Linked DNA regions of Homo sapiens: region 2 is linked to region 1. The links are contacts of gene promoters, found by promoter capture Hi-C in human tissues and cell types (Jung and others, 2019). All regions are on one chromosome and are shown on one strand. Each heading gives the region's core, a stretch centred on a gene start or on the middle of the fragment in contact. The rest is flanking DNA. Distances are from core to core; before and after follow the strand shown.

Region 1 (6,115 bases), core at 468-2,967:
TCCCCTTAGGGACTGGGGAGGGAAGGGACACTGGAGCTGGCAGGCTGGGCCTCACTACCTCTCACAGGATGCCTCCACTGCTGTGTGCTGCCTGAATGGTGTCTGAACCTGAGAGGCCAGAGTGGAGGTCAGGGAGCCTGTCCCTACTCCTGCTGGGGAGACTAAGGCCCCCTTGAGCAAAGAGGCTGGTCCCGTGGTGCACACCAGCGACGGTTTGGGCGAAGTCTGTCCACGCTTCGCCCAAACTGGGAGAGCCCCGCCCTGAGCTGCCGCCTCTCATTTTGTCTTGACTGTGGTGGGGTGCACTTGGAGGCGCCTCCCTCTGTCCATTGGTTACCCAATCATGTCCCTGGGACCTGAGAGGGAGCAGAGACAGGACTTTGCTTGACACGAAGTGGCTCCAGTCAGCTGCTGGTTCTTTTGCTTGTCTCCTTTTTTTCTGGGTTTCCCCTCTTGCCTTGCTATCAGTGCCTTTTCTCAGCACTGACACTGCCTGAATGTAGCAACCTACTCCCCAGATTAAATGAGAGAGCGTAGAAACTGCAAAGCATACAACATACAGCATATAAGGATGGTGGTGATGGCAGCTCAACAGTGGGAACTCAGTGTCCCCAAACTGTACACTTTAAAAGTGGTTAAAATGGTAAATTTTATGTTTTCCATGTTTTCCACAATTAAAAAACAAAAATATACAAGGTACTCATTCGCAGCATCTTCTAATCTGCCATGTACTTGGAAATGATATAAGCATGTGTGAACCATGAGCCCATAGGTCCCGAGGGAGGATATGAGCGAAGCACACGGGCTTTGCCAGCTCTGTTTCCACCACGCAGGACCCTCCCTGGCTGCCAGTGCTCCTCCCCGGGTTCCCACGCTGGCTGCTGCTGGGCTGGCTGGGATGGAAGACCCTCATGTAGCTGGCACCCTCAGGGCTGCCCCTTGCCCGCTCTGGGAGGAGAGAGGAGGGTTCACGCTGCACCTTTACCAGGGTAGGACTGGCCAGCCTGGGCTCTACCGGGCAGGTCGGTGGGATGCTTCAGACTGGAGGGATAGGCAGGGGGCAACACTGGTCCTCCTGAAGCCACCTTCCCTTCCTGAGAGCTCCTTGGGGAGAAGGCAAGCCCTGGAAGCCACCGACTGGGGGCTCGGGCAGAGCAAGGGCAGGGTAAGGGGCAGCTTGGCCAGGAGGCACCCTTGGGAGCCAGGGTTTCCTCATCTGTAAAATGTGACTCTGCGAGGGCAGGAGCTTGGTTTCACTCGCTACTGTACCCCCTGGGGCCTACAGCAGGGCTGGTTGGTACACACTAGGTGTCTAATAAATGTTGAGGGATTGAATGGATGGACCGATGAAAAGGTTGGGCAGGTCATTACTGACAGCCTCTGGGTTTCAAGGGCCCATTCACTCTGTCACTCACCTTCGCGCCCGTGCATTAGTTCTCTCATTTATTCATTCCCCCCGCCCCCCCAGCCCCGCATGCTCTACCGCACTCATTCATTCACGCGCTCAGCCATTCAAGCTGGCGCGGGTTCATTCATTCCCTGCCCCTCTGCCATTCCTCGCCTGGCCCCCGCGCACGCCGCACCCCCGCGCCCCTGCCCGGCCCTGCGCCCACCACTTGCGCCCCGGCCGGGCGCTGCCGGGAGGACGCGCGGGCTCAGCCGCGGCTGCGCGGGGCCGGGGCTGGCGGGGAGCCGGGCTGGGGGCGGGGGGCGGGCGCTCCCTGCGGGAAGCCGGGCGGGGTGGGGGAGCCCCGGCCGCGCCGGCTCCCGGCGCGCTCGGCCTCGGAGGGGAGGGGGCGGCGGTAGCGGCGGCGGCGGTGAGCGGCGCGGCTGCCCTGGGGCCATGTGGACTGGCGGTCGCCGGCCGGGCCGGCTGCGCCGGGCGGTGAGTACCTGCGAGCCGGGAGGGCAGGGCGCGGGCGCGGGCGCGGAGGCGGGGCGGGCGCCACCCACGCCTGGGGCGGTCCCTGCTCAGCGCGGGAGGTGGCCGGCCCCCCGCCCCGCTCCCCTCCGCGCTGCGCCCCCGCCGTGGAGGCTTCACTGGCCCGGGAGGAGCCGGGCCGGGTCTCCTGGGAACTGGGCACTCTCGGGTGGGGCGGGGATGCCCAGCCTCCGCGCGCCGCCGGGAGCGCCCGGGTCCTATCGCGGGGTCCTTGCGCCCTGACACGCGCGCCCCTGCGGCGGAAGGAAAGGAGGGACGGGTGACCAAGGGCGCGGCCGGAGGACTGGGGACCCGCCGCTGTCCCGGGCGGGTGGCGAGGGTGCGGGCAGGCCTGGACCCGCCTGCGTCTGGGGGCAGGGCCAGCCCCTGCTTGGGAGGCCGGAGAAAGGCCCGGGAGCCGGAAGGAGGCTGGACCCGGGGCCGCCTCATTGAGCGTTTGCAGCGCGTGGGCGCGCACGAACCTCGGACACCACCATCCCATTCAGTACCTCGCGGCAGGTACTATCCTCCTGCCCCTTTACAGGCGAGGAAACTGAGGCTCAGGGAGGCCAGGGCCTCGCCCAGAGCGGCTCAGCCGGCGCGCTCACCCTCCCTGAGCCCCAGCACGTTGGATGGGAATTTCTGCCCCAGCGTTTCCGCTTCCTGCTTGGTTTAGAGGTGTTTCCTTCCTCGTCTGTGCCCCACCCCATCCCCAATGTGGTTTCCTCAGGGCAGGAACAGCGTGGGCGACGCGCTGGAGTCTCCTGAGCCGGCAGAATGGGAGCAGAGTGGGCACCCGGGAGCGGGGCCGGATGGATAGGGAGCACTGCACGTGCAAAGTCCGCATGGCCAAGGTCGGCCGCCAGTGCAGACTGGGGGTCCAGGCCCTGGGGGTATGGGTGGGGCGGGGTCTCCACAGCCAGGCTCCGTCGGAGGCCCCAGTGCTCTGGCTCTCTGGAGGCCATGGACAGGTTCTTTTCCTTCTCTGGACCCTAGTTCCTCTGCCTGCCAAGAGCAGCAGAGACCCCCACTACTCCCAGGGCCAGGCTCCCACGAGGACTGTGGGCAGAAGCCCCTAACAAACTGCGGTGTGCAGCCCTGCCAGGCTGGCCTTGGTCTTGCCAGCAGGGGCAACTGGCCGTTGGGGGTGGCTCTGCCTGGCATCTGTGACACGCAGGGCGGGGAGACGGCAGAGAGGGCCCCAGCAGCATCCTGCAAACCCTTAATTTTCCCGACTCTCACTATAATCAGGGCAGCTTGGAAAAGCAAGCACTGTGGCAGATGCGGCTCTGCCCGGGCTCAGCACACGGGCTCTGGGCGATGGGCGGCTGCGCTGCCGCCAAGGGCCCTCCCCAGCTTTTGTCTCATATTTATAGATTCCAAGGCTCCGCGTTCCGTTTGTCGTCAAAACCTGGAGCTGTTCGCACCTGGGAGCTGAGTGGGGAGGGGAGGGCTGCCTAGAACCTCAGCCTGGAGGATGAGTTTTCCATGCGCTGGGGTGGAGTAGGGGGACACCTGTCAGAGCCCAGGCCTGGAGAGAGGAAATGAGCCCTAAGCAATCTGGAAGATCTTCCATCCACTCTCCCAAGACTTGGGCGCAGGGTCTGGCCCACATAGCTGCCATTTATGGAACGCCTGCTATGTACTGGGCCCTGGATCAGCATTTCCACGCATCATCTCCACGGCAACACTTTGAAGGAGCTTCCCTACTCCTGCAGGCACTCCTGATGCTGAAGAGTGGATGGATGGATGAATGGATGGATGGATGGATGGATGGATGGATGGATGGATGGATGGGAGGGAGGGAGGGATGGATGGGAGGGATGGATGGATGGGAGGGAGGGAGGGAGGGATGGATGGATGGGAGGGAGGGAGGGAGGGATGGATGGGAGGGAGGGAAGGAGGGATGGATGGGAGGGATGGGAGGGATGGATGGATGGGATGGATGGATGGATGGATGGGAGGGAGGGAGGGAGGGAGGGATGGATGGATGGATGGATGGATGGATGGATGGATGGGAGGGATTGACTGAAGCCCATGAGTCCATGGCTATTGGACACAGTCCACAAATCATTACCCAGGGTCCCAGGAGGTGGGGTCCAAGGGCTGAGTAGTTGCTGAACAGATGAAGGGGTCAAGGTGTGTTACAGGAGCCTGGCCCAAGGCCTGAAGGTGATGGGGAGAGTGTAGAGTGTTCAAGTCTCAAGACTTAGAGAGGCTGTGTCCTGCTGGAGTGTGGAAGCCATGGCGGTGGGGAGGTGTGGCTCCTCCCCCTAAGGGAGGTAAGGATCCCTGGGACAGATGGGTGGGTGACCCTAGGACTCGCCGTGTTGGTCTAGAATCACCCCGCATGGTTCTCTTCTGACTCCCCTTCCTGCCGCAGAGCTGGTCGCTAGCCTTAGTGGAGAGGCCTGGACGGAGGTCTGCAGCCCTGGGTTCTGGTTCCTCCTCTGCCGCTGACTCACTGTCTCCTCTCTAGGGCTCCGTATCAGAAGCTTAACACCCATTACAGTCAGGGGAGTGACTTCTGTGGCCTGAGAGCAGGCATCAGATTGTAGCCTGTGGTGGGAGAAGCTGGCCAGAGGTGTCTCTATTGCTTTAATCATTATAGGAATGAATGAATGAATGAATGATGAATGACTAAGTGTGTGAATTCTACACTCACCTAACATGCTGTACCTAAGCACCCACTCTGCACTGCTCATTGGGGTCACTTAGGTGAGTCTGACACAGACCTTGCCCTCCACGAGTCCACAGTTTGCTGGGAGACATGGACCTTGGCCAGTACGGCAGGAGTCAGGAGCTGCTGGGGCTCTTCTCTCCCCTCTAGCCAGGAAGGGAACTCAAAAGTGGCCCTTGCCTCAGCAGGCCTTGAGTCTGGAGGACAGTACAGCAGCCTCTGTGGTCTGCCTGGGGTGGGGATCAGCCAGGGCCCAGCTCTGAGCCAAGCAGGGGAATTGCAGTCATTGGTTCAATCAGCAAGCCCTGAGCCCAAGTCAGGGATGGAGATGGGTCAGGCCTGGGCTTTGCCTGGGGAAGCCAGACATGGAAGCCTGGTCATCCCACAGTGGGTGCATGCTGGGATTAAGAGGTGCATGAGGTGGAGAAGCAACGCAGGCATGCTGAAGGGGATGCATGGGTGGATGATACTGTATGGAAGGGAAGCACTAGCAGGATAGAGCAGCGGATGGATGGGTAGAAACCTAGAGGGATAGGCTGGGCGCAGCGGCTCACGCCTGTAATCCCAGCACTTTGGGAGGCCAAGGTGAGTGGACCACCTGAGGTCAGGAGTTCAAGACCAGCCTGACCAATATGGTGAAACCCCGTCTCTATAAAAATACAAAAAAAATTAGGTGGGTGTGGTGGTGTGCACCTGTAGTTCCAGCCATTTGGGAGGCTGAGACAGGAGAATTGCTTGAACCCAGGAGGCAGAGGTGAGGTTGCAGTGAGCCGAGATCGTGCCACTACACTCCAGCCCCTGGGCAACAGAGTGAGACTCCATCAAAAAAAAAAAAAAAAAGGAAGAAAAACGAAAGAGAGAGAGAGAAAGAAAGAAAAAAAGAAAAGAAAGAAAGAAAGAGAGAAAGAGGGATAGATGGACGGGAGGAGAGGTTGATGGATGTAAGTAGCAAGATAGGGATGGGTGGGTGGACAGATGGAAAAGTTGATATGGATACAGGACTGGATTGATAGAACAAAATATCAATGGATGATACATGGGTGGAGGGAGGGAGACTTCTGATACACAAGGCAAGATTGGTAGATGAATGGATGGAAGGATCTTTGGATGGATGGATGAAGGAATGGATACATAAATGGATACAGGTAGTGCCTGGATGTTGGGATGGGTGGATGAATACTTGAATACATGTCCATGAATGATGGACAGAGGAATGAATGGACACTGGAAGAGTGAGTGCATGGATAGGTGATGAGTGTATATTGACGGATGTGTGGATAGAGGCCTGAGAAGGCAGCTCAGTGCACAAATGGATACAAAGCAATGGATGCATGGATACGAGACACAAGTAACAGAGGAATGGACAGACATGGAGGGATGGGCAGGCGGACAGATGGAGACGGGAGTGAGAGGACCAGTGAACAGATGAGTGCCCATCAGCGGGTGAGGGACACAGAGACAGAAGGATGTGTTGGTGCGTGGATGGCACCTGTAAATGGGTGAGCGGTCACAGG
Region 2 (6,803 bases), core at 2,342-4,841, 1.0 Mb before region 1:
TCATTTGAATCGTCTATTGTGCTTTTAGGCTGTTTTCAATTTTTCTTTTTATAAATGATGCAGCAGAGTATCTTTATGCAGAGACCGTTTCCATACTTCCCCCTGTGCAGAAGGAAAAGTAGGCAGAAGAAAGATTAACTTGGTCAAAGCTTTTAAAATCTGATTTAATACTTCTTAAGAATGATGCACCTTATGAAACAACTTTATATCTGTTGAAAAACCTAGTTCTTTTTTTAATATTGTTTTAAAAAATGACTTGTTCTGAACAATATCCTGTGCCTTTCAGAAGACAGCGACGGATATGAAAGGAGATTTGTTCTCTCCAAGCTCTTAGGAGGCGATCTGGCTCAGGAAACAGACACATCAGATCCGAGCATGTATCTGATGGTTGCTATGGGAACAAGTCATTTAACAGCCACTCAGCTAAAGCATTGATCAATAAGGAAGGGGGCAGGAGGGAAATAAATTAGTTGGTGTCTGAATAGCCCTGAGAGAGAGCAATAATGCGTCCCCTTCCCATGGCAGGGGCCCGGGCAGGAGGCAGGGGCGAAGTCTCGTCCATCCACGCTGGGATGTGTGGGGTAGGAGGGCAGAGGGGGCAGAGAACAGAATCATATTGGGGTGAGAAACCTGCTCCCCAAACCAGATATGGGGCAAGTGAGGCCTTAGACAAGGCTGGGGGCAGGGCTCCCAGGGATGGGGGCACGGCTGGTCCCGCTTCTCCACGCTCCTGTGATGTGCTTGCCGGGCCTGCTGGGATACCCTGTGGCACCCCATCGCTCTAGTGGGGAGTTCCGGTCTAGAGAGGAGCCGTGACTCCTTCCAGGCACATGGTCAACCCCACTTGTCTTCTGGGGGCTCCCAGCCTGGCAGGGGAGAAAGGCAAAGGCCCTCACGGGGTCGTTCATTGATTCATCCACAAATACTTCCTGAGCCTGTCTGAGGGACCATGCTCAGGCCTGGGCAGACAGCAGAGACCCAAGGAAAGAACAGAACTTGGGCTCTGGGGCCAAATCGTGGCTCGGCCACTTGGCAGGCTCTTCACCTGTAACGTGTTGAGAAAGTGACGTAAAGTCAGAGCCAGGAGTGGGCATCCTGAGTGCTCAGCTGCCATTGCTGGGACTCATAATCGCAAGGGAAGGCAGAGACAGAAGTGAGGGTTCCTAAGTGGAAGGTACTCATAAAGCCTTGGCTGAATACGTATGGCTGACACAGGGGTGTCTGTGTTTGCCACCAAAGGGTGGCCCTGGGCTGGGATTACACACGGAGAGAAGGCGGGAGGAAAGTCAGGGAGCCTCAGACCATTGGAGGCTGCATCTATTGACCTCTGATCCCCACAGGCATGGGTGTGGGTGTGGGTGTGGGTGTGGCTGGCTCAAGGGTCAGTGCCCACCAGAGAACTGGACCATAGATGAGCTGGACTTTTCCAACCCTGCCAGCCTGGGCCATCTCAAGGGTGCTATTGGTTGTGAGGGGAGGAGGCCCTCTTTTCTGAGTCCCTCCCCAGATGAGTGCAAGCTGGGACACATATACGAGAAGGATCCTAATAACATGCATGCCAAAATCCTGCTGTCCCAGCCTTTGGTTCCAGCAGTTTGACTTCTGGAAGTCTTTCCCAAGGAAATAACCTTGAACCCACGGTGTCTGCTGTAGCATTCTTCATAAGAGTGACTGCAAACAACCTCTAAGCCCCAAATCATGTATTGGTTAAAAAAATAATGATTCCTTTTCTTGCTTTAACTCAGGTGATCCCTAGAAACACAGCCAGTGGCCCGGAAGCTGCACTGTTTTGTGCACCGCAGGGATGGGCACAGATGGGGCTGCCTGCCCTCCTCCTGGAAGGAGGGAGAACCCAGTCTGGCCTGGAGTGGTCAAGAGCTAACTCTAGACTCAGCAAGACCTACTTCTCTCTCCTGCCCCTACTTCCTTGCTGCTGACCTGGGCAAGTCGCTGAAGCCTCTCCGTGCCTCAGTCTGCTCGTGCGTAAGATGGGCACAGGGCACACTGCCTACTTGATTGGGCTCAACCACGTGCAGTAAGTAGCTGGTGTCTGGCAAGAGCCCTCAGGAAACAGTAACCCCATTAATTCAAATGCACGTGCCTGGAACAGGCTCTGGGGGGCCAGCCCGGGAGTCCCACTCCATGATGGCCACCCTGGGGCCTGGCAGGCTGGGCTGGCATCCCAGGCCCACCGGATACTGGCTGTGCACCCCGGCCAGGCCACACATCTCTGAGCCTCACTTTCCCGTGTGTGAGATGAGGCTAGAAGCTGCTTTCTCTTGCGTGTGTGGGGATTGGCGGTGACAACACGGCCAGGAGCCCAGGCCCAGCCTACGCGAGCAGCCTCGCTCCAGGCCACACGCCCCACTCCTGACAGCTCTGTGCAGCGAGTTCGTGCGCGAGCGGGTGGCTGTCTGCCAGGCGAGGGGCGCGGGTGCCCAAGAGGGCTTCACTGCTTCTGGAAAGATCACAAGGAAAAACCACCTCCGCGGCGGGACGCTACCCGCGGGCCGCTGCGGTCCCGCTCGCGGCCGGCAGGGGGCAGGATGTCCCCGCGAGTCGCCCGTGTCTTCGGGTGTCCTCAGGTCACCCCGCACCGCTCGCAGCCTCCGCGCCTAGTTAAAGGGCGACGCACTCATTTCTGCAAAGAAGGAGCCCAGCGGCCCCTCCCCGGGGAACTCTTTCCATCAACTCGGGGCCTAATAATTTACATTTAATTTGTTAGCGGTTTAATGTTTAATTTTAAAAGCGAGATGATTCATTACCATATTAATAAATAATAACATTTATTATTCTCCTAATGAGTGTCCAAAATACAGAAGCAATTACATGTTTTATATATTTTCTCGTAATTTGAGACACCAGAGCGTTAATTACAGAGACTCACGCGTGGACCCCATTCTGATCCAGGGTCCTGATCCTGCCTTTGTTTCGGTCTCTGAACCAGCCGCCCTCCGGGGCTTCTGCAATTCCCTCAATTAGAGGAGAGGAAGTCGTACGTGACGAAGCTGGGGCTCTCACAGAACCCCGGCGCCCCAGACCCAGGAGCTGCAAGACCTCAGCTCCCCGTGCCCACACTCGGAGACCCAGGCCCCTCCCAGTCCCCCGTCTCCTCTGTGCAGGGTTCTTCAGGAAGAATCGGAAAGAGGCCCCCCGACCCACAACCAGCCTCGCATTCCCTCCTCCCGCAGGGATCCATTGAGCTGGGGGGTGGGACTATCCTCACTTCACAGATGGGGAAACTGAGTCCTGGAGAGAGACGCTCCGGTGTCCTCAGCTGGTGAGGGGCAGATCCGGGAGCCACGTCCCACGCAGTCGGTTGGCCCCAAGCTTGGTTCCTGCCTCAACCCCAGCGCAGGTTGCAGCAGGCCCGCGTAGGAGGGCGGCCTGGGTCTGGACAGATCCACAGCCGGCCAACGCCCCTGGCTAGCTCTCTATGGCTTTGCTTCTTCTCTTGACTTGCCAAGTTCTTCTTGTTCATTGTAGAAAATGTGGAAGGTGAGGCCGGGAGCGGTGGCTCACGCCTGTAATCCTAGCACTTTGGGAGGCCGAGGCGGGCAGATTGCCTGAGCTCAGGAGTTCGAGACCAGCCTGGGCAACATGGTGAAACACGTCTCTACTAAAAAAAAAAAAAAAAAAAAAAAAAAAATTTGCTGGGCGTGACGGCAGGCGCCTGTAGTCCCAGTGGGAGTTTGGGGAGGCTGAGGCAGGAGAATCACTTGAACCCGGGAAGCAGAGATTGCAGTGAGCCGAGATCGTGCCACTGCACTCCAATCTAGCGACAGAGCAAGACTCCGTCTCAAAAAAAAAAAAAAAAAAAAAAGTGGAAGGTGAAAAAAACACGGAGAGACAGCAAAGCTGGCAATGACATAGCTCCAAAAATCCCACTTCTCAGATAAGATGCAGGCAGTAAGGGCCTGGAGTTTTATGTATCCTGATGTTTGAAAGGGCTTGGACAGGGCACTTCCTCCCTCCATAGCTCTTCTGTCCTTAGGAATCCCTCCCTTCTGGAGGGGAAGGGTGGGGGTTTTCCTGTTTGGTCCCCAGGGAAGGAAGTTCAGAGACAGAGGCCCACTCAGGGCCACCCCCTGGCCTGCACCCCTGAAATGCAATTTGGATAATATGGAAAATTACTAGGAAGAAAAAACGCTATAATCCCCCCACCTAGAGATAACCAGGCGTTCTGGTATATACCTATTGAGGACTTTTTTCCCAAGCAAATACTCAGAAAGAGACTTCCTCCCAATAGGCATGAGATCTTACTCCACGTGCAGTTTGTCTTATCTTGATTTTTTTCCAGTAATCTTTTAAGAGTTTCCCATGCCATGTAGTCATTCTTCAAAAACCCACTTTGAACAGCTGCGTAATATTCCGCTGTGGAGGAGTGCCCTGCAGTGTAGAGAAATGAGTTATTTACGCTGAAGTCTGTTATTACATGGACATCTTCCCTTTTCTGACCCTGCAATGACCACACTCATAGGTGAGTCTCTCTGGAAATCCTTGACTACCTCCTTAGGGTCCATTCTTAGAAGTGGAATTACTGGGTTAGAGGGCATGAGTGCCTTGAGGGCGGCTGTCTCCCTCTACCTGCATGCCTGCCAGGGCAAACCCGTGCATGCTCCCAGGACAGGCCTGGCAGGGCGTGTCTCCCTGCTGCACCCTTGGTACCCTTGGCAGGGCTAACATTATCCTCTAAACCAGGTCTTTGCAGCACTTACCCTTTTCAAGGTGCTACTGTACCTCTCCTTTAAGGAGGGTTCATCCCGGGAATCGTGAAACACAGGCAGGCTGGTCCTCTTCTCACAACTTCATGATGGATAGACTGAGGCCCACTGAGGCCAAATGCACTTGACTCAGAAGGTTTTAGAATCTTTTTTGGATCCCATTTGGATCCCACACCATTGAAGCCTCCTTGTGTTTCAGATTATGGGGAAAGGCTCAATGATATGTCCCAGGAGAGTGCTGTCTCTGAAGTCTACCCAGCCACAACCCATCCACAAACTCATCCACAAACCTATTCATTCTGGAACTCATCCACTTACCCTCCACCCATCCATTCATCTCAGGACTCATCCACCTATCCATCCACCCATCCATTCACACTGGAACTCATCTATCCATCCATCCATCCATCCATTCACCCACCCACTTAACCATACATCCACCTATCCATCTGTCGATCCATGCATCCATCCATCTATCCATCCATCCATCCATCCATCCATCCATCCATCCATCCATCCATCCACCCACCTACTTAACCATCCATCCACCTATCCATCTGTCAGTCCATGCATCCATGCATCCATCCATCCATCCATCCATCCATCCATCCATCCAATCATCCATCCATCCACCTACCTACTCATCCACTAAAAAATATTGGTTGAGAACCAACTCTGACTCAGGCCCAGGTGCAGGAAATTTTGCATGAACAGCTCTGGCTTTTACAGGCAAGGTAGACCTTAAAGAGCAAGCACAGTTGCAGTGACTCATCTGCAAGGTGAAGGTTAGGTATTATGGGAGCACAGGACAGGGAGCTCAGACCTTCCTGAGAAGGGTGGACCAGGCCCCACTGGCACTCTTTGTGTGACCTTGGTGGAGTCCCTGCCTTTCTCCTGCCCTGCTCCCTATGCTGAGCCACAGAGGAAAAGCCATAACTTACATATTGGCTAGAAAGCATAGTTGGCCAGGGGGAAGTTGGCCACTTTCTGGGAAGCAGAAAGTGGGCAGGGAGGCCCAGCCCCTGTGCTGACATCTGTGTGGCAGTTATTCTCAGGGGTCTTGAGAGAATTAGAACAAACACAGAGGTCAGTGCCAGGCACCACTGTCACGGGGCCATGAACTCTTCATTGTTATTGCTTATTATTATTATTAGTAGTAGTAGTACTAACACTTTCTGAGGTTTTTTTCATCGGCCAGGCATCATGCTGAGAACTTTCAGATATTGGTTCATTTAATCCTCCCTTAGCCCTGTCAGGTAGGCAGAAATTGTTACTCTCACTTTACAGATGAGAGCATTGAGGCACAGAGTAGTTATGTAACTTGCTCAGGGTCACAGCCAGTAGGTGTGCGCAGCCTGTGCCTTGTGGCTTTGCTGCATGCCCTGCCCTTCTTGTTCTTGTTACTGCAGGCACCTACAGTGGGGCATTTAGGGAGCCTGACTTGCCCAGGGACCCACTGAAGAATCCAGGCCCCATCCCTAGAGTAGCATGCACAGGAATCTCCCTGCCCTGCCCCGGCCTCTGCAGTGTGAGGTCAGGCGTCTCCTTCCTCCACAGGCCCTGGACTAGCACGCACGGGAGCCTCCCTCCAGGCCCCATCCCTGGAGTAGCATGCGTGGGAGTCTCTCTGCCCTGCCCTGGCCTCTGCAGTGTGCAGTCAGGCCTCCCCTTCCTCCACAGGACCCCATAAAGGGAGGAGGGGAAGCACGTGTGACCCTGCACACTTCTCCCACCCTCTCTGAGCCTTTGTTCCTGAGGGGCCTCGGGGGAAACCATGGATGTGAAAGAATGCTGCGGAATGCAGCGCAGGAGTGAGGCTGCAATGGTCACTCGCTCACTCAGTGGGTGCACATGCTCTGCCCTGCTCACAGCAGGCCCCTTCTCGGCACTGGGGTTCCAGTTGTGAACAAGAAGGTCAGAATCCTGATCTCAGGGCGCTGACAATCTAGAGAGGGAGGCAGACAGTGAGCAGTGCGATCATGACCGAATGCAGGGTGAAGGTGCAGTGCTGCGGAGAAAATCTGGGTGACGGGATGGAGACTAACGGGAAGGGGGGTCCCACAGGAGCCAGGCTGGAGA

Evidence for each region. The method cuts DNA at HindIII sites, captures the fragments that hold promoters and counts their contacts. A contact is called where the count stands out against the background at its distance.
Region 2: a contact is called between a fragment that was not itself captured here and the fragment with the promoter of BEGAIN in region 1, in 1 of the 25 tissues and cell types used here (lymphoblastoid cells).

The regions. Positions count from the first base shown.
Region 1 is chr14:100,583,019-100,589,133 of GRCh38, reverse strand. BEGAIN (brain enriched guanylate kinase associated) reads left to right here and starts at 1,717. Exons shown (of 7, transcript NM_001385089.1): 1 at 1,717-1,885. The coding sequence starts at 1,844. The HindIII fragment of the contact is 7,942 bases long and covers 1-5,284 here.
Region 2 is chr14:101,624,347-101,631,149 of GRCh38, reverse strand. LINC02320 (long intergenic non-protein coding RNA 2320) reads left to right here. Exons shown (of 6, transcript NR_184269.1): 6 at 1,746-2,801. Among named protein-coding and RNA genes, the nearest start is that of DIO3, 66 kb to the right of the region's middle. RefSeq lists an enhancer at 6,801-6,803. The HindIII fragment of the contact is 3,701 bases long and covers 1,741-5,441 here.